5 separate regions of the Homo sapiens genome follow, and all the other regions are linked to region 2. The links are contacts of gene promoters, found by promoter capture Hi-C in blood cells and fetal thymus (Javierre and others, 2016). All regions are on one chromosome and are shown on one strand. Each heading gives the region's core, a stretch centred on a gene start or on the middle of the fragment in contact. The rest is flanking DNA. Distances are from core to core; before and after follow the strand shown. Region 1 holds the start of IFT81 (intraflagellar transport 81). Region 2 holds the start of PPP1CC (protein phosphatase 1 catalytic subunit gamma). Region 3 holds the start of GLTP (glycolipid transfer protein). Region 4 holds the start of PHETA1 (PH domain containing endocytic trafficking adaptor 1). Region 5 holds the start of BRAP (BRCA1 associated protein).

Evidence for each region. Contacts are between HindIII fragments. The CHiCAGO score rates a contact against its expected background, and 5 or more counts as called.
Region 1: the fragment with the promoter of IFT81 here is called in contact with the fragment with the promoter of PPP1CC in region 2 in 2 of 17 cell types (fetal thymus and naive B cells); the score reaches 9.0 in fetal thymus.
Region 3: a contact is called between the fragment with the promoter of GLTP here and the fragment with the promoter of PPP1CC in region 2, in 3 of 17 cell types (non-activated CD4 T cells, neutrophils and fetal thymus). The highest score is 7.2, in non-activated CD4 T cells.
Region 4: the fragment with the promoter of PHETA1 here is called in contact with the fragment with the promoter of PPP1CC in region 2 in 14 of 17 cell types (endothelial precursors, total B cells, erythroblasts and 11 more); the score reaches 10.7 in endothelial precursors.
Region 5: a contact is called between the fragment with the promoter of BRAP here and the fragment with the promoter of PPP1CC in region 2, in 1 of 17 cell types (fetal thymus). The highest score is 5.7, in fetal thymus.

Annotation. Positions count from the first base shown.
Region 1 is chr12:110,122,018-110,126,780 of GRCh38, forward strand. IFT81 (intraflagellar transport 81) reads left to right here and starts at 2,340. Exons shown (of 19, transcript NM_014055.4): 1 at 2,340-2,844. RefSeq lists a silencer at 2,154-2,423. The HindIII fragment of the contact is 3,777 bases long and covers 2,053-4,763 here.
Region 2 is chr12:110,740,348-110,745,002 of GRCh38, forward strand. It overlaps PPP1CC (protein phosphatase 1 catalytic subunit gamma), which reads right to left and starts at 2,544. Exons shown (of 7, transcript NM_002710.4): 1 at 2,306-2,544. The coding sequence starts at 2,360. RefSeq lists enhancers at 2,269-2,777, 3,539-4,123 and silencers at 2,415-2,474, 2,635-2,774. The HindIII fragment of the contact is 5,862 bases long and covers 1,276-4,655 here.
Region 3 is chr12:109,877,199-109,882,050 of GRCh38, forward strand. It overlaps GLTP (glycolipid transfer protein), which reads right to left and starts at 3,343. Exons shown (of 5, transcript NM_016433.4): 1 at 3,074-3,343. The coding sequence starts at 3,176. It overlaps LOC124903012 (a long non-coding RNA gene), which reads right to left and starts at 4,203. Exons shown (of 3, transcript XR_007063455.1): 1 at 4,163-4,203; 2 at 3,917-3,976; 3 at 3,700-3,809. It also overlaps a transcript of TCHP not described here. RefSeq lists a silencer at 3,051-3,600 and an enhancer at 3,925-4,426. The HindIII fragment of the contact is 8,722 bases long and covers 650-4,852 here.
Region 4 is chr12:111,366,621-111,371,481 of GRCh38, forward strand. PHETA1 (PH domain containing endocytic trafficking adaptor 1) reads right to left here and starts at 2,475. Exons shown (of 3, transcript NM_144671.6): 1 at 2,292-2,475. It overlaps LINC02356 (long intergenic non-protein coding RNA 2356), which reads left to right and starts at 2,641. Exons shown (of 4, transcript NR_187522.1): 1 at 2,641-2,700. RefSeq lists a silencer at 2,066-2,645. The HindIII fragment of the contact is 8,438 bases long and covers 1-3,046 here.
Region 5 is chr12:111,682,486-111,687,247 of GRCh38, forward strand. BRAP (BRCA1 associated protein) reads right to left here and starts at 3,471. Exons shown (of 12, transcript NM_006768.5): 1 at 3,226-3,471; 2 at 661-822. The coding sequence starts at 3,307. It overlaps ACAD10 (acyl-CoA dehydrogenase family member 10), which reads left to right and starts at 3,568. Exons shown (of 21, transcript NM_025247.6): 1 at 3,568-3,754. RefSeq lists enhancers at 1,794-2,495, 2,496-3,197, 3,198-3,899 and a silencer at 3,244-3,343. The HindIII fragment of the contact is 2,811 bases long and covers 2,674-4,762 here.

The sequences.
Region 1 (4,763 bases), core at 1,090-3,589, 620 kb before region 2:
CAAAGTGCTGGGATTACAGGCATGAGCCATTGTGTCTGGCAAACCATCTTATTTTTAAAGTTTTATTCAAAAAATTCTTTTACTTCTTTTTTTTTTCTTTTTTCTTTTCTTTTTTTAAAGATGGGGTCTCACTGTTGCTCAGGCTGGACTTGAACTCCTGGGCTAAGACTGTCCTCCCACCTCAGCCTCCCAAAGTGCTGAGATTACAGGCATGAGCCACCATGTACATGCCTCATTTTTTTAAAAAGAAAAAACATAAATGTCTTCAGTGCCTCCCAATGTTGGGCACTGTTGTAATCACTTTACCTGTATCAACTCCCTTAATCCTCATGTCAACCCTATTGAGGAAGGTTTTATTATAGCCACGTTTTACAGATGAGGAAAGTTTAGCAAGATAAAGAGAGGGTACACAATGGCAGATGCAGAATTCAAACCCAGGTAGCCAGGGATGTCTCCTAACACACCCAACAGGATCAATGAATTATATAATCCCTTCTACAAATCTTGTATTGTTTCTGTCAGTATTATGTAAGTTATTTAATTCTTTGAGGTTTTGAGTGTTGCTTCCCCTAATTGGTTGTGGGGTGGGGCCAGTTTTAGTTTCTCTCCAGGAGCCCTGCAGGGTACCTACGCTTGATATTTCAACAGTCAGAGGGCAGCCAACAAAGGGACTGGTCTTGGAATGTTGTGTTGCCTCTGCCCAAAACACTCTCCCTTTTCCTGTTTGGCTAATTTTTACTGATCCTTTTTAAGAGATGGGGGTCTCCTTCTGTTGCCCAGCCTGGAGTGCAATGGTGCCACCCCTGACCAATTTTTGCTTTTAATTTTTTGTAGAGAAAGGGTCTTGCTCTGTTACCCAGGCTGATCCTGAACTCCTGGGCTCAAAGTTATCTTGTTGCCTTGGTCTCTCAAAGTGCTGAGATTACAGGCGTGAGCCACGGTGCCAGGCCTAATTTTTACTGATCCTTAAACATCACTCCATTTGACAGAAACTTTCCTGATGGTATGGCCCCTTTGGCACCACCCTCCCCAAATAAACTTGAGGCCCTTAATCTGGGCTCCTAATCATTGGCTTCTCTTGTTACAGCATTTATCTCAATTGTATTGGTGTTGCCCCTTTAATAATCTCTGCCGGCACTAGACTGTCAGCTCCATCAGGGCAGGGGCCAGGTAAGTCCTGCCCTTCTGCATTTCCAGCAGCCTGTACAGTACAGGGCATATAGGAAATGCCTAATACGTAATCTGTTATTTTTTGTTGTGGTAAGTCTGATGCTAAAGCTATAGTTGGTTTCTCCTATGCTGTTTGAGCAGGCAACTAAGTTTTCAAGGTATCAATAATTTGATTTTTTTTCCTTCTCTTTCTTTCATTGCCAGCTGATATCACTAAGTATCGTGGTCTCTAGTCTAATAGAGGTTGGTTCAAAATACCATTTGCCAACTAAGGTCTCCCACAAACCAGCTAGTGCAAATTCCAGTAGACTTTTAAACCTCATCAGTGACTGGGCACAAAGATCTCCCTGCGTCCTGCGTGGGATGTGAACTCCATGAAGACCACAAGGAGGATTTAATTTATTTCTGCAGTCACCTAAAGAGAGCCCACTCAGAAGCCAAAGGAACATTAGGACACTTAGTTCTCCCACACCCCCTTTCAGGCTCTCAGCATACTCAAAACGTATTGGGTTTAAAAAAATTTAATTCCCAGTACAGGCAATGTGGCCCAGTAATGTGACACAGAAGCTGAAATCTCTATGATGAATGTGTCTTCTTTTAATCCTGCCAGAGCCTCACTACAATTGTTCCTATGCATAACCTAATTTGGAGATACTTATGTCAAAAACCTAAATTTGAAGCACTGGCCAAATGCTTGCTCATCCCAACCCCCCTACCACCCAGCCCTGCCTCAAAAACAAACAAAAATCATCACCCACGTTTGGCGCATGAATGCATGCATGCATGCATGAATGAATGAATGAATGAAACATCACACGCATTTAACATAGGTTAATCATGCAGAGAGTATTTTGTAAACTGCGAAGTGCAGGACTTTCGGGAAGCTTATTGTAGCGCGTCTAGGTCGGAGTAACAGTCCCAAATGCCCTCGGCTGTCTGCAGTGGCTCAGCACGTGGGCCCGCTTTGCAAGTAAGCCCGGCTCCCGTCCGCCCCGTCCGCCCCGCCCCGTCCCGCCCCGTCCCGTCCGCTCCGCCCCGCCCCGCCCCGTCCGCTCCGCCCCGCGCCCGTCCTCCCCGCCCTGGCCCGGCCCCGCCCCCCAGCTCGTGCGCGCGCGCGCGGGAGAGCGGCCGCTCGCCCGGAAGTGACGTAACTCTACGGCCTAGCAACCGTTGCCAAGGAGCTCGACTCTGGGAGCGGTCTAGAGCCCGGGCGCCTCCTGGGGGGTGGGGAAACGGTTTCGTGAGGAGAATTTGAGGTAACCTCGCCAACTCGCGGTCGGAAGCTCCTCTGAACCCCGAAATAGGAGAGAGCTCCCGTCCTCTCTCGGTCCTGATGCAGCACCTCGCAAGTGGAAGGGGTCGTCGCGGTTAAGCCCCCGGATAGGGGAATCGGGCCCCTTCTGGGATTCGAGCGGATCCAGGCCGCTCCCTGGAGGGATGAACTGTCGAGGGGCCCAGGGCAGCCCCCGCTAGAGGCCCGGTCGGGTGTGGGGTCCCCTGTCCCCTGTCCCGAGCCCGGGGAGGGGGACACTATTTCTGGTACTCCCAGGAGGCTGCGGGTCGATGCTCGTGCCAGCCTGGGACCCAGGCAGCACGGTTTCTCTCCCAAATTGTGCCAGAGAACACGCACGTCCTGGTTTTCATTGTTCCCCGCCTCCTGCGACTCGTTTGTGGGTGAGTGCTTGGGAATTAGCGCGGCGACTTCGCGCTAGAAGAGGGACAGTAATTGCTTTTGCTAATTTTAGAGCGCAGAGCCCGCTGGGCACAGACAGCCTTCCTGTTCAGTACATCTTTGTCCTTATCGAGTGACCATTTTTGCAGGCTGGTGGGCGACTTGGGGGGAACCCAACTGGTTTATTTTGCCTTCCTGGAAACGTTGTACTAGTTTATCCAGATTTTTTTTTAAGGGAAAAAAGAGTAGACCTATAGATAATTTCTAAATCATTTAAAATGAAATACATATTTCTGCACGCAAAGGTTATGACGTGGACTTTTACTTAAAATACTTTAAACAATGGAAAACTTGCACTTCCAATATGGATTTTAAAAAAAAACTTACGTAAAGGTTTTCCTTTTATAGCTTAAAGGAAACCTCAGATTTATTATAAGCCATGGTGGTTATCCTTCCTATCCTCTTTTGACTTATTTCTTAGCAATAATAATTATTTGTGCGTAATTTTTCATCATTGTGGAGAAATTATCTTTTTTATTTTATTTTTTCTGTTGAGACGGAGTCTCTCTCTGTCCCCCAGGCTGGAGTGCAGTGGCGCGATCTCGGCTCACTGCAACCTCCGCCTCCCGGGTTCAAGCAATTCTCCTGCCTCAGCCTCCCAAGTAGCTGGGACTACCGGCGCCCGCCACCACACCTGGCTAATTTTTGTATTTTTAGTAGAGACCGGGTTTCACCATGTTGGCCAGGCTGGCCTCGAACTCCTGACCTCAAGTGATCTGCCTGCCTCGGCCTCCCAAAGTACTGGGATTACAGGAGAGAACGACAGCTCCCGGCAGCAACTCATTGCTTAATTCATTTTTAATCCTTAAAGCATTTACCTAGGTAAAGCTGTTTCAGCAGTTAATAAATCAGATATTCAGTTTTTTAAAAAGTTATGATCTTTCTCACTGCCAGCCTGATTTCCTTTAGATTTAGGCTTATGTTGTACTTGTGCCTGTGAACAAGTTCATTCAATCTAGTGGAAGGAATCACTGTTTTAGACACAATGGATGTTCAAAAATGGAATTGGACACAGATACGGAATTTACAGTTTAGCAGGGAAGAGAAGATGCGTACCTAAAGAACTAGCACAAGATCGGCCAGGCGCGGTGGCTCACGCCTGTAATTCCAGCACTTTGGGAGGCCAAGGTGGGCGGATCACGAGGTCAGGAGATCCAGACCATCCTGGCTAACACGGTGAAACCCCGTCTCTACTAAAAATACAAAAAATTAGCCAGGCGTGCTGGCAGGCGCCTGTAGTCCCAGCTACTTGGGAGGCTGAGGGAGGAGAATGGCTTGAACCTGGGAGGCGGAGCTTGCAGTGAGCCAAGATCGCGCCACTGCACTCCAGCCTGGGCGACAGAGCGAGACTCCGTCTCAAAAAAAAAAAAAAAAAAAGCACAAGATCAAAAGTAGTGCTAGGAGAGAAGCACAGATAAAGTGTGGTCAGCTATGAAGGACAGGTGTTGGCACTGCTGCAGAACCTGGAGGATAGCTTGAGAAAGGTTTCCTGGGGGAGCTGGCGTTTGGTGGGCATGGCTTGAAAGATGGTTGGGGGGGTTTGTGCCTCTTGAGATGAAGGAGGGGTGCGCAGTCATTTTAGGCAGAGAAAGCAACATTAACTAAAGGCAGAGTGATAGAAAAACTAAGGAGCAGTGACTGTTTCAATAGGCTGAAGTTTGAAGGGGTAGAAAGATGACAATTTGGAAATAAAGTTGGAAAGGGATAAGTTGTGCCAGATCATAAAGAGTCTGGAAATCCAAGAAGTTTGAGCTGTATTTTGTGCGCAATAAGGAGCATACAGATGATTTGGAATGGGGAGAGGTGGAGACCAGAGAACAAGAGGCTGTGGCCTCATTGAAGGCCAAAGGAAATGAAGGCA
Region 2 (4,655 bases), core at 1,294-3,793:
GGACGAGGTGCGAGGACTGCTTGAAACCAGGAGTTTGAGAACAGCCTGGGCAACACAGTGAGACTCTCATTTCTATTTTAAATTATTAAATTTAATTTTTTTAAATAAAAAATTGTAAAACAGAATTTATTACCAACATCATTTAACTTAGATATCTACATATCCTCAATGGATCATCTTCAACTGTTTCTCTGCCAATTTAACACCCACGAGAAAAAAAGAAATTTAAGTATACTTTGCAGTTAGCCTATTCCCAAGGCATTAAAATGCACTGCTTTATTAATTTCAGCAAAAAATGAAATATAAGAAAACCTGGTTTTCAAGTGCCACATAACAAGAGGAACTATTAAGAAACAATGATCTCATTTTAGATGTATCATTACTTACCAGGCAAAGTACTTATTACAATTTTAAAGATCAAAATTAACAAAAGCTGTTTATGAATAGAGGCAGTTATGGGCAAACCAGAACTTAAATTAGCAAGCCTTAGATGATCTTAAAATTCTAATGTTTCTAATCCATGCAAATTCCAACTTTTCCTGTTTCCTCAGAGAAATAAAGCCACACATATCCCTGCAGAGATAAGCAGAATTTTAAAATTTAGAAAGAAAATATTTAACAAAAAGTTCCTTTCTTACAGCAAACTATTTTAATCAGTTTCTGACCAACTGCTGCCTCGAATAAATTAAAGAACTATATTAACTAGTATGAAAAAGTATGGTTCTTATATAAATACCTGGCATTAAAAGAATGACAAGGTTTTCACCTACAATACAAGGTTTTCACCTGCAATAACATTTCAAGAGCATTTCAGGGGTCCTTAATGACATTTAGTGTTTTTTTTGTTGTTTTTTTTTTAAAGACAGCATAAAAGGAAAGAATGCACAGATTAAGAAAAGGACGAGATATTTTCAGGAGCTTCATTTTAATAACTTACTTTAAAAGATCTGTAAATTCTAACACCAGAGCTGTCCAACTGTTCATGCCCTCGACTCCACCACTCACAGCATTTATAGTCCAACAATATTTTAGGACTGTATAAAGGCAAAAAGCAGTTGAAACTGCCAAGTTCCCATTATGAAGTGTCCAAGTTAGGGGATATGACTGAATTCTTACAAAGTCTTGGATAAGATGTTAGCATCCGTTGACATGCCCTTGAATCTGAAAGCAGCTCATTTCAGCTTCCGTCTTTAAAAGCTGAACCTCGCCCCTCTCCCACATCAACATGAATCAATTGCCAGGCACCTCACAAGTCTTAGATGAGCCGAAATTTAAAGCTTTCTATTAACCTTTACTTAACCACTGGCCACCTTCCTTCCTACATAAGGTGACAGTGTTGTCTGTAGAGGGTTCTAGCTCCCGGCTATGTGGATTTGAAATCCAACTGTCACTAACTGTGTGACCTTGGTTAAGTGACTTCATCTCAGTTTCTTCTGTAAAATAACAAAAACAAAAAAAATTGCAAATATCTTGCAATGGGTGGGAGAATTAAATGAAATCTGTCTTAAGTGCTCAAAGAATGCCTGACACACAGTAAGCGCTTTAGAAGCGTCAGTTATGATTACAGTAATAATTCATGGACGCAAAGTGCTTAAGACAGAGCCTGGCACATTGGAAAGATAATGATAGCGTCAGCCTCGTTGGCTTCCTCTTCAGATGCACGCTCAGGAAAAGAGCGCGGAGACCTCTCCAAGATTAGAACAACTTAAAAGGATTTGGAGGGCAGGCGAAGACAGGTTCTCACACCTCTTGAGACATGAACGCTTGTTACCAAGTAACAAGAAATGGGCCCCCCAAGACCCCAGAACCACGAAAAATAAAAATAAAAGCAAGCAGGAAAAGAGCCCCCAAACCCGGCGGAACTCATGCCCTCATCAAACTGCCTTCCGAGAGGACGAGCACCGAAAAGTCCATCTCGCACAGCACGGCACACGTCGTCCAGGAGGCTGGACTGGGATCCCCAACCATCGCTCCAAAGACCCGTCCAGTGCGCGGGGGCAAACGGGTAGGGGCGGGAAACGTGGGGGTGGGGAGCGGAGTTTTCAAATTCCACGGCCGGGAGGAAGCCTGCATCCTCGTGCAATGAATGAGCGGAGCCTGGAGGGTCCGCAGCTGGCGACAAGTTGGGAATCCCGGGCTGGCCTCCCTCCGGCTGCAGTCCCCGGCCCGTGGGCCAACTCGAGGAGCTCACTCCCCACGGTGCTGCAAGCCCAACCGGCCTCCCAACTCCCCTCCCTCGAGCCCCCGGGGCCGCCTGCCGCCCTCAGGCCCGCCTCCCCCTTCAGCCGCCCGCCGCCCCCCTTACCTTCCAGCAGCCGTTGGATAATGCTGTCGATGTTGAGTTTATCTAAATCCGCCATCGCCTTCCCACCGCCGACCCTCCCGCAGCGGCGCCGCCGCCGGCTCGCGCCCGGGACTCACACCTCCTTTCCCACGCCACGAGCAGAGGCGGTGGTGGCGGCGGTGGCAGCAGCCGCGGCGGGTCCCCCCCCTGCCACCCCGCTCCCTACTTCCTCCTTCTCTCCCCACTGGAACCACGAGAAGAACAAAATGGCCGCCGACTCCTTAGACAGCCTCGGGCGGCGCACGGATGCGCGCGGGGAGTGCAGCGGCCCGGCCGGGACTTCTTTATGGGCCATAGGGGGCGCGGGAGGGGGCGGGGCCCGGGCGCTGGAGGGGGCGGGGCCCGGGCGCTGGGCGGGGCGCAGATGGCTGAGCGCAACCGCGTCCCCGCATGGGATCCTTCCGCCAAACGGGCCGAGTAAATAGGCCCGCCCCCAATGCCGGGCCCGAGCGAGAGTTGCAAAGTTGCACGCGGGAGTTGGGGCTGGGGGAGGAAATGCAGCTGTGCACACCGCCGGTTGCGGCCATCGCCGGATCTTGTGCATTGAGTCTAGATGTTTGCAGACCTGGACAGGTGGGAGCTCACCGAGGGATTTCGGGGGTCCTGGAACTTACCCTTTAAGATAAATCTGGGGTGAGGATGGAAAAGAATAATAAAGAAAAGAAGGTTGACTTATTTTGGATTCAGATATACTGGAACTTGGGACAAGAGAAAGGTTTATTTGGTAACTAAAAAGAAAAAACCCTCTTTCAGATAAGTCAAAATGTAACAGTTAACTCATTGTGAGTGGTGGGTATATGGGTATTTGTATATATATTTTTTGTGCACTTCTGTAACTTTAGGGGTAAAAAATCCATACTCAAAGAAAATTTTATCATTTCTGTCCCTTGGATTTATCTTCCCTGAACTCGGAAAGTTATGTAATCATCGGGACGGTTATCCCGATTCTAGCCAGGGCAAAGTTGAACGAGCGCGTGCAGCAGTTAAAAGGGGAATTTGCAGATTTCACGCGTGCAGGCCGGGGGCGGGAAGAGAAGATGCAAGCTGCGCGGGCGGTCCTGGGTTCTGCAGACACCCGAAGAAACTTTGGCCCATTCCTCTCTGGCTTCCCAGCCTCCCCGAGGGCACTCCTATCCAAGGGGCCCCCAAACTGTGCCACCTCCAGGGGCTGCGCGTCGACTTTGGCTGGGTTTGGAAGTACAGCCCACACTCAGCAAACAGATCGGCTCTCTTTCCTGACCTTTCCATGTACGTTGCTTCCTGCAGCGCTTTACATTTTGCAAAGCCCCCTCTCTCCGAGAAATTCATTTTGTTTCCCAAGGCGTGCAGGATGCACGAATCCCCATCTCAGTATGCCACGAGGTAATTGCACCACCCAGGCATCCTCTTCCAAAGCAATGTCCTCAGGGTGCGGGCTCCATGTCCCCTTACTTGGGCCCCCTCGCTACTGGTGCAGGGCCCTTGAGTTTCAGAACTCAGCCTATCGATCCACTTTCCTCAGGCACTAACTCACTTTCCCCTGCTACAGCTCTGTCCACCAGAAGTCACATAAGTGCCATTTGTCAGGCCAAGGCAATGAGCCCAGTTGGTGACATTCGGAGTTGGTGCCCAGCGCTGCTGTGAACATCTGGCTATGGAGGTCAGGGGGGGCTCTTGCTGGAGTCCACAGGACTTTGGGCTACTCCAGGGCAGGGTGCATCATCGGAATGGCATTTAGGGTAGAAATATGAAAGACAGCAATTCATTCAGCAGACAAATATTTATGGAGTACCCACTCTGTGCCAGGCATTGTTCTAGACAGGGAAGCAGGGGTGATCAAGACAGACAAGGCTTTTTTCTATGGAGAGTCATTTAGTCAGTCAGATGGTAAGCAAAGATGCAAATAAAAATATCAGCTTCTGATAAGTGCAGTGGAGAAAAATAAACAAGAAAAAAAATGCTACTGTGTTCATTTCTTAGTATGTGCCAAAAAATGATCTCATTGAATCCCCAAGATAATCCTAGGAATTATGTCCTATTCCTATCATCCCCATTTACAGATGAAGAAAGTGAGGCACAGAGAGGCTAGGGTGGTTGCTGAAGGTCACACAGCCAGGAAGTTACAGAGTCAGGGCTGGAACTCAGGACAGCCTGAAACCACAGCCCTCGTTCATATTCAGTAAAACCCGGCAGTGAACCCCCAGCAGTGTTCACATCCCTGGCACATACTGGGCACATATCAATTTGGAACCCAGTGGAATGACTGAATTGTGTCTCTGCCCACAATACGAGTGCCATAATTTTCCTCATGCAAAATGGCAGGTGTGTTAAC
Region 3 (4,852 bases), core at 2,093-4,592, 860 kb before region 2:
GAAAATATTCTGAAATCCCAGCAGAGATTCTTTCTTCAAAACTCTACCTCAAATGTTGTCAGACAATTGAATGAACTAATCTACATAGAGTACTTAGCACATAGTAAGGGCTCAGTGAGTGACGGGGAAATTTTTATATATCATTTGTATTTGCTCAGTTTTCCTCCAATTGACAGATCTTCCTTGCAGAATTAAATACTTTTTAAAAACACAGCTTTTGGCTCTGAGTCATATTTATATCTAGAGCTATGGTTCTCAGAGGTGATTTTGCCTCCCTGGGGATAGTTTAGGTTGTCACAATCTGGGGAGGGGGTGCTACTGGCGTCTGGTAGGTAGAGGCCGGGAATGCTGCTAAACATCTTACAATGCACAGGACAGCCCCACCACCACAAAGAATGAGCCAGCCCCAAATGTTGGCAAGTGCCATGGTGGAAAATCCCTGACTTGGAGGAAACTGTAGCTGCAAGGCGTTTCACACTCCTGGTGTCCCTCACCCCAGAGCAGCTCCATTCAAGAGACACACACACCACCCAGATCATCCCGGTGACCAGACGCTCCCAAGATCTAGAAAAAGCCCCTGCATCACAGCCGACAAATGATCTTGATCAGACGTCCCAGAGAAAAGTCACTCGTGGAAGAATCCTCCTAAAGCTTAAGTCTTCAACCTTCAGGAGCAATTCTCCTCCCCCCACAGAAGAGAATAATGGTTCAAACGAACTATCACTTTTTTTTTCTTTAGAGTCCTAAGAATCAGCCTCTTTGGTGAACAGTAAACAGCTCTGGTGGGCAGAGGGCCCTGTGGTGGTTAACCCATTGTGGACCAACCCCACTGCGGCTTCTGTATAAATGGTACTTCTGTCAACAGATGTGACACCCCACAGCACAGGGATTGCAACAAAGACAAGGGTCCTTTGAGACCAAGGAAAGGGAGGAGGAGATGCTCTTTAGCCCTGGCACCAGATGACTGCTGGCTCTGGCTTGCCACCTCCCTCTTTCCTCCAAAACCAGCCAGATAATTGCATCAAATGATGATACCCCCAAATACAGAACGGATGTGCAACCTCGCTGAAAATAAGGAAAGAAAAAGCCACAGAGTTTAACCTGGGATTTCTCCACCTTTGACACTGCTCATGTTTGGGGCTGGATCATTCTTTGTTGTGGCAGGACTGTTCTGTGCACTGTAGGATACTGAGCAGCTCCCTGGCCTCTACTCACAAGACACCCCGTGCCCCATCCCCCAACTCAGTTGCAACAAAAATGCCTCCAGGCATTGTCAGATGTACCCTAAGGGGCAAAACTGCCCTCAGTTGAGAACCACTGGCTTAAATGGATTCTGAATCCCTGTCCAGGGCAAGCTGGCTCTGACTTGGAACTATTCCTGCAACCAAAGAGGAAACAAGCAAGCAAAAAAAAAACAACAACAACCAACAACATCACAAAATTAAACAACTTTTCAATGCTAGAGCTGGTTCGCTCCCAAGCCCCCACCTGGAGAGTCAGTATTATCTCAAGACTGTGACACTGATAATAAGAAAGTTTTGTGCATTCAGCAGTATTGACTGAGCATCTGCTATGTGCCAGGCACTGTTCTGGGCACTGAGGACACAGAGTGGATGTAAAAAACCAAGCCCTTGCTCTCAGGTTGCTTACCCAGGTCTGGGAATCATACACACCAGACAATTGCACTCCCTCAAACACCGATTAATCACTCTAGCAAGGAACCAAAACTGGATTCAGGAACTTAAAACCACACCCCCTACAGCGAAGACCTATTTGGCACTTACGGCCTCGGTACTTTACACACACCACCTCATCGACTCCTCACAGCTGCCCTAGGAGATCAGCATCCCCGTTTCACAGCTGGGGACACTGAGGCTCACGAGGTGAAGGAGGGGAACTATAGCCTCCAGGTAACCACAACCATCCCAGAGCTCAGGACACTGTGGGAACTACCACCCCTAACAAGCCTTCTTTGCCCACTAAGTCGGACTGTCTTAAGATCTCCTGTCTTTGGGTTTCAGGTGGACTCTGCCCTGGGGGCTGGTATTTTCCTGCAAGGCCACCAAGTGAACCAGCAGGACAGGACAGAGCCCACATGGAGAAGGAGAATAGAGGCTCAGGTTGCACCCTTTACCCGGGACCCAAAAGGCAAAGGGCAGGGGCAGTGGTGCTGGCTTCTAGTTCCCATTTTCCATCTGGGGCCTTGGCTGGACTGGGCTAGGCTGAGGGAGTGCGGGAAGAGGGTCTGAAAGTGGACCGCCTTCCCAATGCGCCCAGGAACTTCCACACGACATACAGGGGAGGGGCTTCCTCTCGTAGAGCCCAAACTGAGGGAGGAATTGGTGCCAAGCTCTGTATGTCTGATGTCACCTCACAAAACAGCTCCCCCGACAACCCTCACCCCTGTCCTAAAAGGAGGAAAAACTTTAGGTGGTTTCCCCTAGAAAGAGGCCCTGGAATTTTGCAACTCCATCTTCAAAACCCTCTCCTTGTCCCCGCCTCACCAGGCTTCCTACCCTTGGAGGGGGAGATGGGAGTCTTTGATCTGGAATGGGCGAATTCTGAGGGAAGAAGGAAGGGTTTGTAGGTCCCATGAGGGAGAGGCTGGAAGCGTTCAAAGAGAAGGCTTATGAAATGGGGGGATTCATTGTAAGGGGAGCGAGTTGAGAGCCATCAGAAAGCGCCAGGGATGAAGGACTTTGGGGAAGAAGGGGCAGGAGGCTTTGGGGGAGATGGTGGATTACAGAATGCCTAAGGGAGATGGAAGATCATCCGTGTTGGGGGCACGGATGATCAGGGGGCATTTGGGGGATATGTAGGACTGTGAGGTGTCTAGGGAGAGGGAGGATTTGGGGAGGACAGGCAGGATGTGACATGTTTAGAGCGGAGAGGACTTGGGAGTGGTCCGGGAAAGGGAGAATTTAGGGTGAGTGGAGGGAAAGAGGATCTTGGGTGCCTGGGGAAACAGTACTTAGGGGTGTCTAGGGCAGAGATGGTTAGGGGATGCTCGGGGGAAGGAGGATTCGGGTGCGCGTGGGGCTGCGGGCCGCCTCCCCCCTCCATTCCGGCTCACCGAAGAAGGGCGGCAGGTGGGACACCGCCTCGAGGAAGGGCCCGGTCTCGATCTGCTTGTCCGCGGGCAGCGGCTTCAGCAAGTGTTCGGCCAGCAGCGCCATTTCGGGGTCGAGGCCCGCGGTGATGCCCCAGCCGGCGCCGCGGGCGTCGACACCGCCCCCCCGGCCGCCGCCGTCAGCGCCGGGGCCGTCACAGCCGCCCGCCGCAGGCTCCGGGGACGCCAGCGTCGCCACTTCCGCCCGCACGGCGCCCTCGTAGCCGAGCGCTCAGCGCCGCCCGCCGGCCGAGCGCCTAAACTGCCGGGCGCGCCGCCCCGCCCCCGCTCACCGGCTCCCAATCCGCGCCCGCCGCCGAGGTCTCCGCGCCCCCATTGGCCGGGGGGCCGGCCGGGGGCGGGACGCAGAGGAGGTGCGCCGGTTCATGGGTCCCGGAGGGCCCAAGTGAGCCGCTCCCAGGTGAGTCTTCCCCAGGTGTGCCTCCCGCCGCCCCCGGTTTGGCCCCCCAATCCGGGCGGGCCGACTCGGGCCAGGTCACAGCTCACAACCCGCCCACCAGCTCGGGTTACAGCCCCACCCAGCCAACGCTCCCCAGGACCCCCGTTTCCCCCAAAATTGTACCCCAGTAACCCCAAGTGACCTGGGTGGACACTGCTCTCCTGTTGGTCACGGTTCTCTTTCGCTACAACCGACGAGGACGCTCGATTGCTTGATTCTTGGTCTTCAATGACCTTATACCTGTTGAACACTGCTGAAGTCACAGTCTAACTCAGCCACTGCCCTGCTGGACAACTCCTGCTTCCCGAAATCTGGGGTCCAGTCTGCCCTCAACAGTCTGATGTTACCTGTTGTGAGGCAGAAAAATAGGGCCTGGAGGCAGGGAACATAAGGCTGACTTCCTAGACCTAAATCAAAAAGCACCTTAGCAATGACAGGAATGTAAACGGCTTTGCAACTTCACTTCATCCTCTCCATTCACGCCCTTTACACTTTGTAACTTCACATTCATCCTCTCCATTTACACAGACCACACACTCCAAGAAACATCCTCTCCATTTATACTTTGTAACTTCACATTCATCCTCTCCCACCAAGTAACATCCTCTCCATTTGCACATCCTCTCCATTTGCAATAGGGCACATTCTGAGTAAATGACTCTGTGACTTCACTTCATTCTCTTCATTTACATAGAATATTCACCAAGTAACCAATGGGAAACCTCTAGAGTATTGAGACCCTAGAAAATTCTGTAAGCAGAGCTCTTGAGCCTCTACGCTCAAGCCTGCTCCCAAACTGTGGGGTGGACTTTTCGTTCTCAGTAAATCCTTGCTTTTGCTTTCCTTGCTTCGTTTGTGTGTTTTCTCCAAGATGCCAAGTACCTGGACACCTTCTACTGGTAACAGCTGGAGCCAGCCCAGTTTATACCAATTCACCCACAACCTGGACACTTGTTTCCCAAACCTAATGTCTCTCCAACAGCCCAGGGTCCAGCTTCTCACACCTTGAATCACAAGTCATCTCAGCCACAACCCACCTAGATGCTTATGTCCTAAACCCAATGCCCAGCTTATGCAAAAATCTAACACACCATTGTTGAGAGCCTCTTATTCATTCCAGAATAAACATTTGCCATCCTTCCCACCCCTCCCCCACCCTCCACCACTATGTGTCATGCACTGCACTGGGCACTGAGGATAAAGTGAATGATACAGCAAAATCCCTGCCCTTGTGGAGCTGACAATCTGGTTGGGAACACAACACAATGCAATACACAAATTGG
Region 4 (4,861 bases), core at 1,225-3,724, 630 kb after region 2:
CATGTTCCTCAAGGTAAGATCCAAGCCTCCTTCCTAAGCTCTTCTCCGAGCCACACTGAAATCCACTTCCCACAGATGGATCCTGTGAAAATTAAGTCCAATCACACTCCTCCTCTGCTCTAAACCCTCCCATGGCTCCCTACTTCTCTCAGCATAAAATTAAATCCTTAGGCAGGGTGCGGTGGCTCACACCTGTAATGCTGGCACTTTGGGAGGCTGAGGGGGTAGGATTGCTTGAGTTAGAGACCAGCCTGGACAACATAGCAAGACCCTATCTCTATAAAAAATAGAAAAAAAAATAGCTGGGCATGGTGATACAAGCCTCTAGTCCTAGCTATCTGGGAGGCTAACATGGAAGGACCCCTTGAACTTGGGGGGTGACATAGTGAGATTCTGTCTCAAAAAAAAAAAAAAAAAAATCCAAGCCTCCCTTGGCTTCCAAGTTCCCTTTCCCTACCTCTTTCCCCCTTGTTCACTCAGCTCCAGCCATCCTGGCCTCCTTTCTGTTCCTCAAATACACCAGACACATCCCCACCTCCAAGACTTGGTCCCGGCTGTCTGCCTGCAGGTCTTCACAAGGCCAGCTCCCCATCCTTTGGTCTCAGCCTAGCTGTCACCTCCTCAGAGAGGTGGTCCCTGGCCACCCTATGCACAAGAGGCCCCCCAGTCCCTCTCCTGTGCCTCCACCTGAAATTAATACCTGGGTCATTTCTGCCTGCAGGGGCGTTTGTGGTCTGAATTCTAGTGCCTGGCATGCAGTAGGTACTCACACAGCTGTTTGATTCATTCTGCAGTATCTTCTGAAACCTTTCAACAGCCCCAAGACAAGGGATCTCACCCCACATTCACAGATGTGGAAATGGACACAGGGAGATTCAATAAGTTGGCTAGAGGCATACAACTGTGCCCAGAATCACATGCTCCAGGCAAGCCACCCAAATAAAGGGGCTGATCTTGGGGTCTCTCCACCCCATCAAGGCCAAAGGAATAGCAACTTCCCTCCTGCTCAGCAACCCTCCTCCCCCGACTGCCTAGATAGAGGCCAAACTGGTTCAAGGTCACCAGCAGGCACAGGACCCAGCTCTGCCCATGACCCCTGCCTCCACCAGAACTGGGAAGACAGGAAGCTGCAGGGGCACAGGCGCCAGCCTTGCCTGGAGCGAAGGCCTGGCCCCTGCCTTATCTCCCCACACTGTTTTCCAAGAAGTTCAGAGTCCACTGTGGGCACTGCTGCTGATTCAACAGCCCATGGCCAGACAGGAAGCTGGAGGGAGCCTGGCCCAGCTCTGCTCCCAAGGCAAAGTTCCTGCCTCCGCAGGTCCAGGCTGGAGGACCTTGGACAAGTCGTTTCACCTTTCCAAGTCTCAGTGTCCTCATCTGTTAAATTGGGCTGTGTGGCGAGGGTTCATGAGCTAAAAGAAGGAAAACCCACTGGCAAACTATGGGAAATGGATTGCAAATATTAGCTGCTGTGAGTCGGAGTTTTTTCTCAGCCTCATCTGCAAAATGGTGACGTTAACTTCCATCCCTCTAAGGGCTGAGTGAATTGACTCCTGAAGAGTCATTTTGCAAAATACTTGGTGGGTAGTGAGCTTTCAGGGAAAGAGCTGTCAAAAAGGCAAATAATTCATCCAAGATCTCCAGGGGCACAGCTGGCCCCGGAACCCAGGTCTCCTGGGAGACTGAAGCATGGCATTTTGGCACTCACATCAACGAAAAGAAGCCAGTACCGCAGGTCCTGGGGTTGAATCCAGCTGCCCTCAGTGTCCCCCAGCAGCGGGCGTGGGGAAGAGGGTGTGGCAGGCACAGGCTGAAAAACATGTGTGCCAAGAACACTAAAGAGCAGCCTGGCCGTCACCGCCCCAGCAGGGACCCCAGAGACACGCCAGCACCGCCGTCCAGACACAGGCAGCCCCCTTGTCCACGGCAGGGGCTGCTGCTCCAGGTGTGGCCCTGCTCCCGGCTGCTCTCTGTCCCTTTGTGTGTTGTGCGTGGGAGCTCTCTTAAGTTCCTTAAAGGACAGCCAGAGCCCCAGATGGGTGATCAGCGGCAGAATGGGGGGCTTATCCGCAGTCCCCACCAGCGGCAGACGTCCCTATGGGCTGAGAGAGGGGAGGGTGGTCATTGGCCAAGTTCGCCTCGGCAGCTGGAGAAGTCACCACTGGTGCGGAGTCCCAGCGGGGAAGATCCCCGCAACGCGCTCTCCAGGTGGCCGGGGGACCCCGAGGCCCAGGGCGGCCCGACCCGGGTCCCATGTCCTCGTGCATGTCCCCCCGCCAGGCCCGCCTTACCTCGCAGCGCAGGCCTAGGGCGGCGACGGGACGGGAGGCGCGAGGTTGCGGGGTGGCCCGGCCATGGTTCGGGACTGGCCCGGTGGCGGCGACGGCGGCGGCAGCGCTTTGTCTCCTGGGCGGCCGGGCCGGCGCAGCCGCGGGAGAGCGCGGATCCGACGGAAGGAGGCGGGAGCAACCGGACAGTCCGCGACCCACGGGCGCGCCCCTTTAACCCTTCCCAGCCTGCTCGCGCCGGGCCCGCCCCCGCGTTCTTCCCACCTCCCGATTGGCAGGCCCCGAACCGGCACGCCCCCGTGAGCCCGCCCTCGAAATCACTCTTAAAGGGTCCGCTCCTGGCTCGCGACTCCCCAGTTCCCTAGCCCAGAAAAGCGGATTGGAGCCCGGGAAGCTCATTGCGATTCCAAAGGTAAGGACTGGCCCAGGTCGTGGATTAGCCTGCAAAAGCATTTGGGGGTCCTGGGCGGGCCATTCGCTGAAGTCCTAGGCTTAAGTCCGAACTCCCCCCAGGACGAGGCAGGAGGATTGCCTGAGCCTAGTAGTTCAAGACCAGCCTGGGCAGCAGAGGGAGACCACCATCTCTACAAATAATAAAAATATTTGCTAAACCTGGGTTGCCAGGTTTAGCAAATTTAATGCCCAGTTAAATTAGAAAAATAGCTCTAATTCCTGAAAAATGTGTGAGTGGCAGAAAAAACAGCTGAATCCAGGACATTTGCGTACAGCACTGTTCCATACGGACAGGGCGCCTCGCAAGCTTCCCCTGGCTCCAGGTGAAGAGAGGAAGTTCTGGAATTAGGCAGACTTGAGTTCGAGTCGCACTAGGCCACTGAACACTGTGTGAGCTTAGAGAAATCATTTCACTTCTCTAAGCCTCCGTTTCCTCATCCGGAAAATAAAGACCATCATGATATGTAAAGTGCACGGCACAACAGAAAGCTCTCAAGAAATAGGAATTGCTGTTGTTTTTGCCCTGCCCACCTCCTTGAACCCTTCCTTCCTGTTCCTGCCGCCTCTTCTCCACCACCCGCCACCTCCCAATCACTATTAAGTCCTGGCCTGAAAGCAGGAAGAACAGGACAGACCAGGGTCAGCTCTCCATTGTACAGCCTCTCACTAAGCGCCTACTGTGTGCCAGGCACTGTACCTGAACCAGGTAAGCAGGTGCAGCCAGGAATCAAGACAACACAAATGAGTTCTGGAAGTGATTCATGCTAGGACTGTACGCTAAGGCAATGGGGCAGAAAGCCTGGGAGTGCAGTTTTTTTGTTTTTGTTTTTTGTTTTTTGTGTTTTTTTGTCACCCAGGTTGGGGTGCAGTGGCACAATCACAGCTCATTGTAACCTGAACTCCTGGGTTCAACCGAGCCTCCCACCTCAGCCTCCCAAGTAGTTGGGACTACAGGTGTGTACCACCACACCCGGCTAATTTTTTTTAATTTTTTGTAGAGATCGGGGGGGTCTTGCTATCTTGCCCAAGCTGGAAGTGCAGCTTTTAGACAAGGTGGTCAGGGAAGGCCTCTCTGAGGACAGACCTGGAGGAATGAGGGAGGGAGCCATGTGGTTATCTGGGAGAAGGAGGTCCCAGGCAGAGGGAACAGCAAGTGCAAAAGCCCTGAAATGGGGCCATCCTGGGCATGTTTGAAGAACAACGAGGAGACCAGTGGAGCCAAGTGAGCAATGGGAAGAATAGTAGGAAAATAGGTCAGCTGGCTGGGCGCAGTGGCTCACGCCTATAATCCCAGCACTTTGGGAGGCCGAGGCAGGTAGATCACTTGAGGTCAGGAGTTCGAGACCAGCCTAGCCAACATGGTGAAACCCGGTCTCTACTAAAAATACAAAAAAAAAAAAAAAAAAAAATTAGCCAGGCATGGTGGTGTACACCTGTAATCCCAGTTACTTGGGAGGCTGAGACAGGAGAATCACTTGAACCCAGGAGGCAGAGGTTGCAATGAGCTGAGATTGCACCACTGCACTCCAGCCTGGGTGACAGAGCAAGACTCTGTCAAACAAAAAAAAAACAAAAACAAAAAAAAAAACACAATAGATCAGAGATTATTGGCAAAGCCAGAAAGCCAGGTGACCTAGGGGCTTAAGGACCAGAGGAAAGATTTTGCTTTTACTCTAAGAAGAATGAGGAGCCATGGGAGGGTTTTGAGCAGAGGAGGGACATGGTCTGTGTTAGATTTAACATGGTCCCTGACTGCTATGGGCAGGGAATGATAGTAGAAGCCAGGCGATCAGGGAGAACACTACTGCAGTAGTCCAAGCAAGTGATGGTGGTGGCTTAGAGTGGAGCAGTGGAGGTGGAGAGAAGTGGTTAAGTATAGATATATATTTAATGGATATATGTATTAGTCCGTTTTCACACTGCTGATAAAGACATACCCGAAACTGAGAACAAAAAGAGGTTTAATTGGACTTACAGTTCCACATGGCTGAGGAGGCCTTGGAATCATGGCGGGAGGTGAAAGACACTTCTTACATGGCAGTGGCAAGAGAAAGTGAGGAAGAAACAAAAGCGGAAACCCCTGATAAACCCTTCAGATCTCGTGAGACTTATTCACTATT
Region 5 (4,762 bases), core at 2,221-4,720, 940 kb after region 2:
TGAGACTGTCTCAAAAAAAAAAAAAAAAAAAAAGAAAAGAAAGAAAGAAAAAATGAGCTGGCAGAGCAGGGGAAGGCACGACATGTTTATTTGGACACATTAATGATCTGCCACTGAACTAGGTGGTAAGAAATTCTCCCTGGTAGCCGGGTGTGGTGGCTCACACCTGTAATTCCAGCACTTTGGGAGGCCGAGGCAGGTGGATCACTTGAGACCAGGAGTATGAGACCAGCCTGGCTAACATGGAGAAACCTTGTCTCTACTGAAAATACAAAAATTACCCAGGCGTGGTAGAGGGCATCTGTAATCCCAGCTACTTGGGAGGCTGAGGCAGGAAGACTGCTTCAGCCCAGGAGGCTGAGGTTGTAATGACCCGACATTGCACCACTGCACTCTAGCCTGGGCAACAGAGACCCTGCCTCAAAAAAAAAAGTCCCCCCCGTCACTGAACTGAATTGTCAACTCCAACTGTTAGGATTAATTTGGAAGAAATATTTGGAAACACTAACATGTGGCTTAACAGTGTCATATAAAGCACACACGTAGTGAAAGACAAAAGTATGCTAGATGTTGAAATTGTAGGCTCATCAAACACCGTGTATAAAATAGGCAACCAGTGTTCACATTACAAAAGAGAGTCCAGGGTTTTAGAAAGCATACCTGGGTTGGACTTCATGGTCTCAATGATCACATCTGTCATTTCTCGACGGCCGAGATGCTGATGGATAATCGCTACTTTCTCTCCTGGTGACTTGCCTTCTAAACAGGCTACAGCTGAGGCTAGTGTCGTCTTTTTTATCTCCTCATCAGACATTTCCCCGGCTAAAGAACACATGAATGATTAATACAAGGTAATAAAACAAGCTCCTCTCTGTTCTCTATTCCTCTATCATTAGGTTTTCCTTTTCTTTCTCCTGCCTTCCGCCAAGATGATAAGAAGCCTTTGTAGTATCCATCTCACTCAACTCTGGGACCACTGCAGTACACAGCAAAGAGTCAATAAGCAGCCAGGACAATATACTCAGAAATGCAGGGCTGTTCTACTGAAATCATGCACTTTATTTTTATTTTTTGAGACAGAGTCTCACTCTGTCACCCAGGCTGGAGTGCAGTGGTGTGATCTTGGCTCACTGCAACCTCCACCTCCCAGGTTCAAGTGATTCTCCTGCCCCAGCCTCCCGAGTAGCTGGGATTACAGGCACGTGCCACCACGCCCAGCTAATTTTTGTACTTTCAGTAGAGATGGGGCTTCACCATGTTGGACAGGCTGGTCTCGAACTCCTGGCCTCAAAGTGATCCACCCGCCTTGACCTCCCAAAGCGCTGGAATTACAGGTTTGAGCCACTGCGCCTGGCCCAAAATCATGCACTTTAAAGCAAATCGCCAAAGAGGGAGCCTTAGAGAAGATGCAACAGTGATCATGCCCAGATGAGCTAACATTTTAGTAACACCTGATAAAATGAAATTGTGTTCAGCCCAAAATGAAGCTATCAAGTCCATTAAAAAAACAAAATTTCAAAAACTTGTAGGGGTAGTCTTAAACATCCTGGCTTATGCTCATGCCATGAACCAAGCCATGAACATCTGTGATTACTGTCTTAAATCAATGAAACACATGAAAAGGGAAACGGAATTTGGAGACTTAACTGAAATATCCCTAATACATGCTCTGTCAGGGCAGGGACAAGGCCTGTTTTGCCCACCACTGTATTCCCAGCCCTTATACCACAGTGCCGAGCACACAGAGGAAGCCCTCTAAATGTTTGATGAATAAATGACTACATGACTGACCCATGCAGATGTCTATATGCGGCTAATATCAATTTAGCTGACTCTCAGAACTCAGAAGCCACTTTTAGCCTTTGGAAAGGTGCTCATAAGCTATAAAGTCATATTCAATCTTTAATTTGCAGCTTCAAAGGTCACGTCCTCAGGAAGTTCCCAATGACACCATCCCTACCTGCCCCCATCCCTCTCTCCAAACCAAACACATCTTCTTGTAATACTTTCCCAAATTGTTTCTCCTTTCCTTCACAGCACTTACCACAGTTGTAATTCTACACATATTCTGCACTTATTTAATTCATCTGTTTCCTCCATGATACTGCTGGTGCCATTAAAACAGAGACGCTGTCTGATTCAGCACACAAGGAAGGCTCCAGCAGATATGAGCATAAGTTTTTTTTTTGTTTTTTTTTTTGAAATGGACTTTATCTCTTGTCGCCCAGGCTGGAGTGCAGTGCCACAATCTTGGCTCACCGCAACCTCCACCTCCCGGGTTCAAGCGATTCTCCTGCCTCAGCCTCCCCAGTAGCTGGGATTACAGGCACCTGTCACCACGCCCAGCTAATTTTTGTATTTTTAGTACAGACAGGGTTTCACCATGTTGGCCAGGCTGGTCTTGAACTCTCAACCTCAGGTGACCCGCCCGCCTCGGCCTCCCAAAGTGTGAGGATTACAGGCGTGAGCCACCGCGCCCGGCCAAGTATTTCTTGAATGAATGTTAGTTAATTATCTGAGGACCAAGGAACAGAGCCAGAGCTGCATTCCCCACTAAGGAGCTTCCTCACTTGTGTTAATGGTGTAAAAAGCTCAGACTCAAGTCCAGCTCACTGAGTTAGAATCCCAGTTTCACCCATTACAGATAACCTTGGGCAAATCAATTAATCACTAAGCTTCAGTTTCCCAATGTGTAAGAGGTACATGTCACATCCATCTGCCTCTTAGGGCTGTTGCAAAGATAATTAAAGAATACAATACACAAAAGGTGCTTAGTACAGTGCTGGGATATAGGAAGTGTCCAAATTTTAGTTATGACTATGGTTAGGGGGCACTTCAATGGATATCGTTCCAAAAGGGAACAATTTAATTAACCCAGGGACCGTCCAGCGTTGCTGGGGACCCAGTCCCTGCCTTTACGAAGCCCATAGGGAAGCAAGTGAGACAAACACACCACTCGACTATCTCGAGAGGGAGACGCGCCAGGTATAAACTAAATGCCCTCAGACGGCACAGGGAGGGAGGTTCGGGGCAGGGCTTCCCTGAGATAACAAACGGGAAGGCCTCTCAAAGGCGGATGGGAAAGAGAGGGATCCCGATTACCTCTCCGTGTCTTCCTGGGCAACAGCCCTCGCCGCGGGCTTTTCCCGGGCCAGTGCTTTGGGAAGGGAAGCCCTCCGGGCCCAGACCCGGCTACAGGGAATGCGGCGAGGCCGCGGGACTCACCCGCGGCGCTGAAGCCGAAGCCGGCGGGGACAGGCGAGTGTTCCGCGAGCTCCAATCGGATAACAACCAGTGACACACTCATAGGGCAGGCGCTGGCCGGCGCGGGCCCCGGCGGGCTCAGGCGAGGCTGGAAGGCGAGCCGAGAGGCCGAGCGGCCCGGGGCCGGCAGCGCCGCCACCACCTCAATGCAGTTGCCGCCGCCTCAGCAGCAGCAGCTCCTCGAACAGCCCTCGGAGCCACAACAACCTCCACTTCCGCCTCCCGGCCGCCGTCGCTGACCTGCGGTTTACGCATGCGCGCAGGACCGCGCACAGCGATTGGGCGGCGTGGCAGGGGTCACCCACTGCTCTTCCGGACGCAATTTTGAGGAGGTCGGAGCGGAAGGACGTCGTGGAGATTGCTTGCGCTGGGGTGCCACACTTAGGCTGAGCTGCAGGTTTTCGCACAGTCGCGAGTTAACCTCTGCTTGCTCCAGAGGCCTCGTCCTAATCCACCTCGGCTGACGGCGCGGGATCCCTGGCTCCGCGAGGTCTCCGAATTGTCCGAGCTATCTGCTATGCAGAACTTTGCCCCTTTTGTTGTGTTTGACTCCTGTCTCTAACCCTAGTCTGGATGGTTTTGTTTCTGTCCCACTTTACAGATAGGTACAACGAGGCTCAGAGAGGTGAAGTTCCTTCTAAGGGGCCGTAGAGAGTGGAGAGTCGATCGCTGTTCAGATAGCGATCTGGCTGGGCGCGGTGGCTCACGCCTGTAATCCCAGCCCAGAGGCTTAGGCGGGCGAATCACCTCAGGTCAGCAGTTCGAGACCAACCTGGCCAACATGGTGAAACCTCGTCTCTACTGAACATACAAAAAATTAGCCGGGCTTGGTGGCGCGCGTCTGTAGTCCAAGCTACTTGGGAGGCTGAGACAGGAGAATCGCTTGAACCCGGGAGGCGGAGGTTGCAGTGAGTCGAGATAGTGCTAGTGCACTCCCGCCTGGGCAACAAGAGCGAAACTCCGTCTCAAAAAAAAGAGAGAAAAGATGGTGATCTGCTGGTTACGAGCATAGTGCTGCAGTTAGACCGGGGTCCTCCTCCCCACCCTGTCACTTCACAAATGTTTACTGAGAGTCTAGACACCCTTGGGATGCTTGAGATACGTTGGCGTATAAGATAAACACAGTTCCTGTCCGTACTATGAGGTTGACCTACATCAGCAGTTGTGCAGTCTTGAACTAGTATAGTCATTGCATAAAGTTGGCATGATATCATGTCCTCATGCAGTTGTGAGGATGAAATGGAATTATGTATATGGAGATAACATTAGCTTTTCTGAGGCTCAGCATTCTTTCCAGTATGTCAGAGTGGCTTTTGTATGTAGATACTGACACAATCAATGCATATGGGACACATACATGACAGGATGCTACTCTAGGTACATTGTATAATGATACATATGTAAGTACATAGTACATTCTAGATGTGTGTGTGTGTGGACATAGTGCGTTCTAGATGTGTGTGTATCTGGACTATGACATGACCACAAGATACATGCG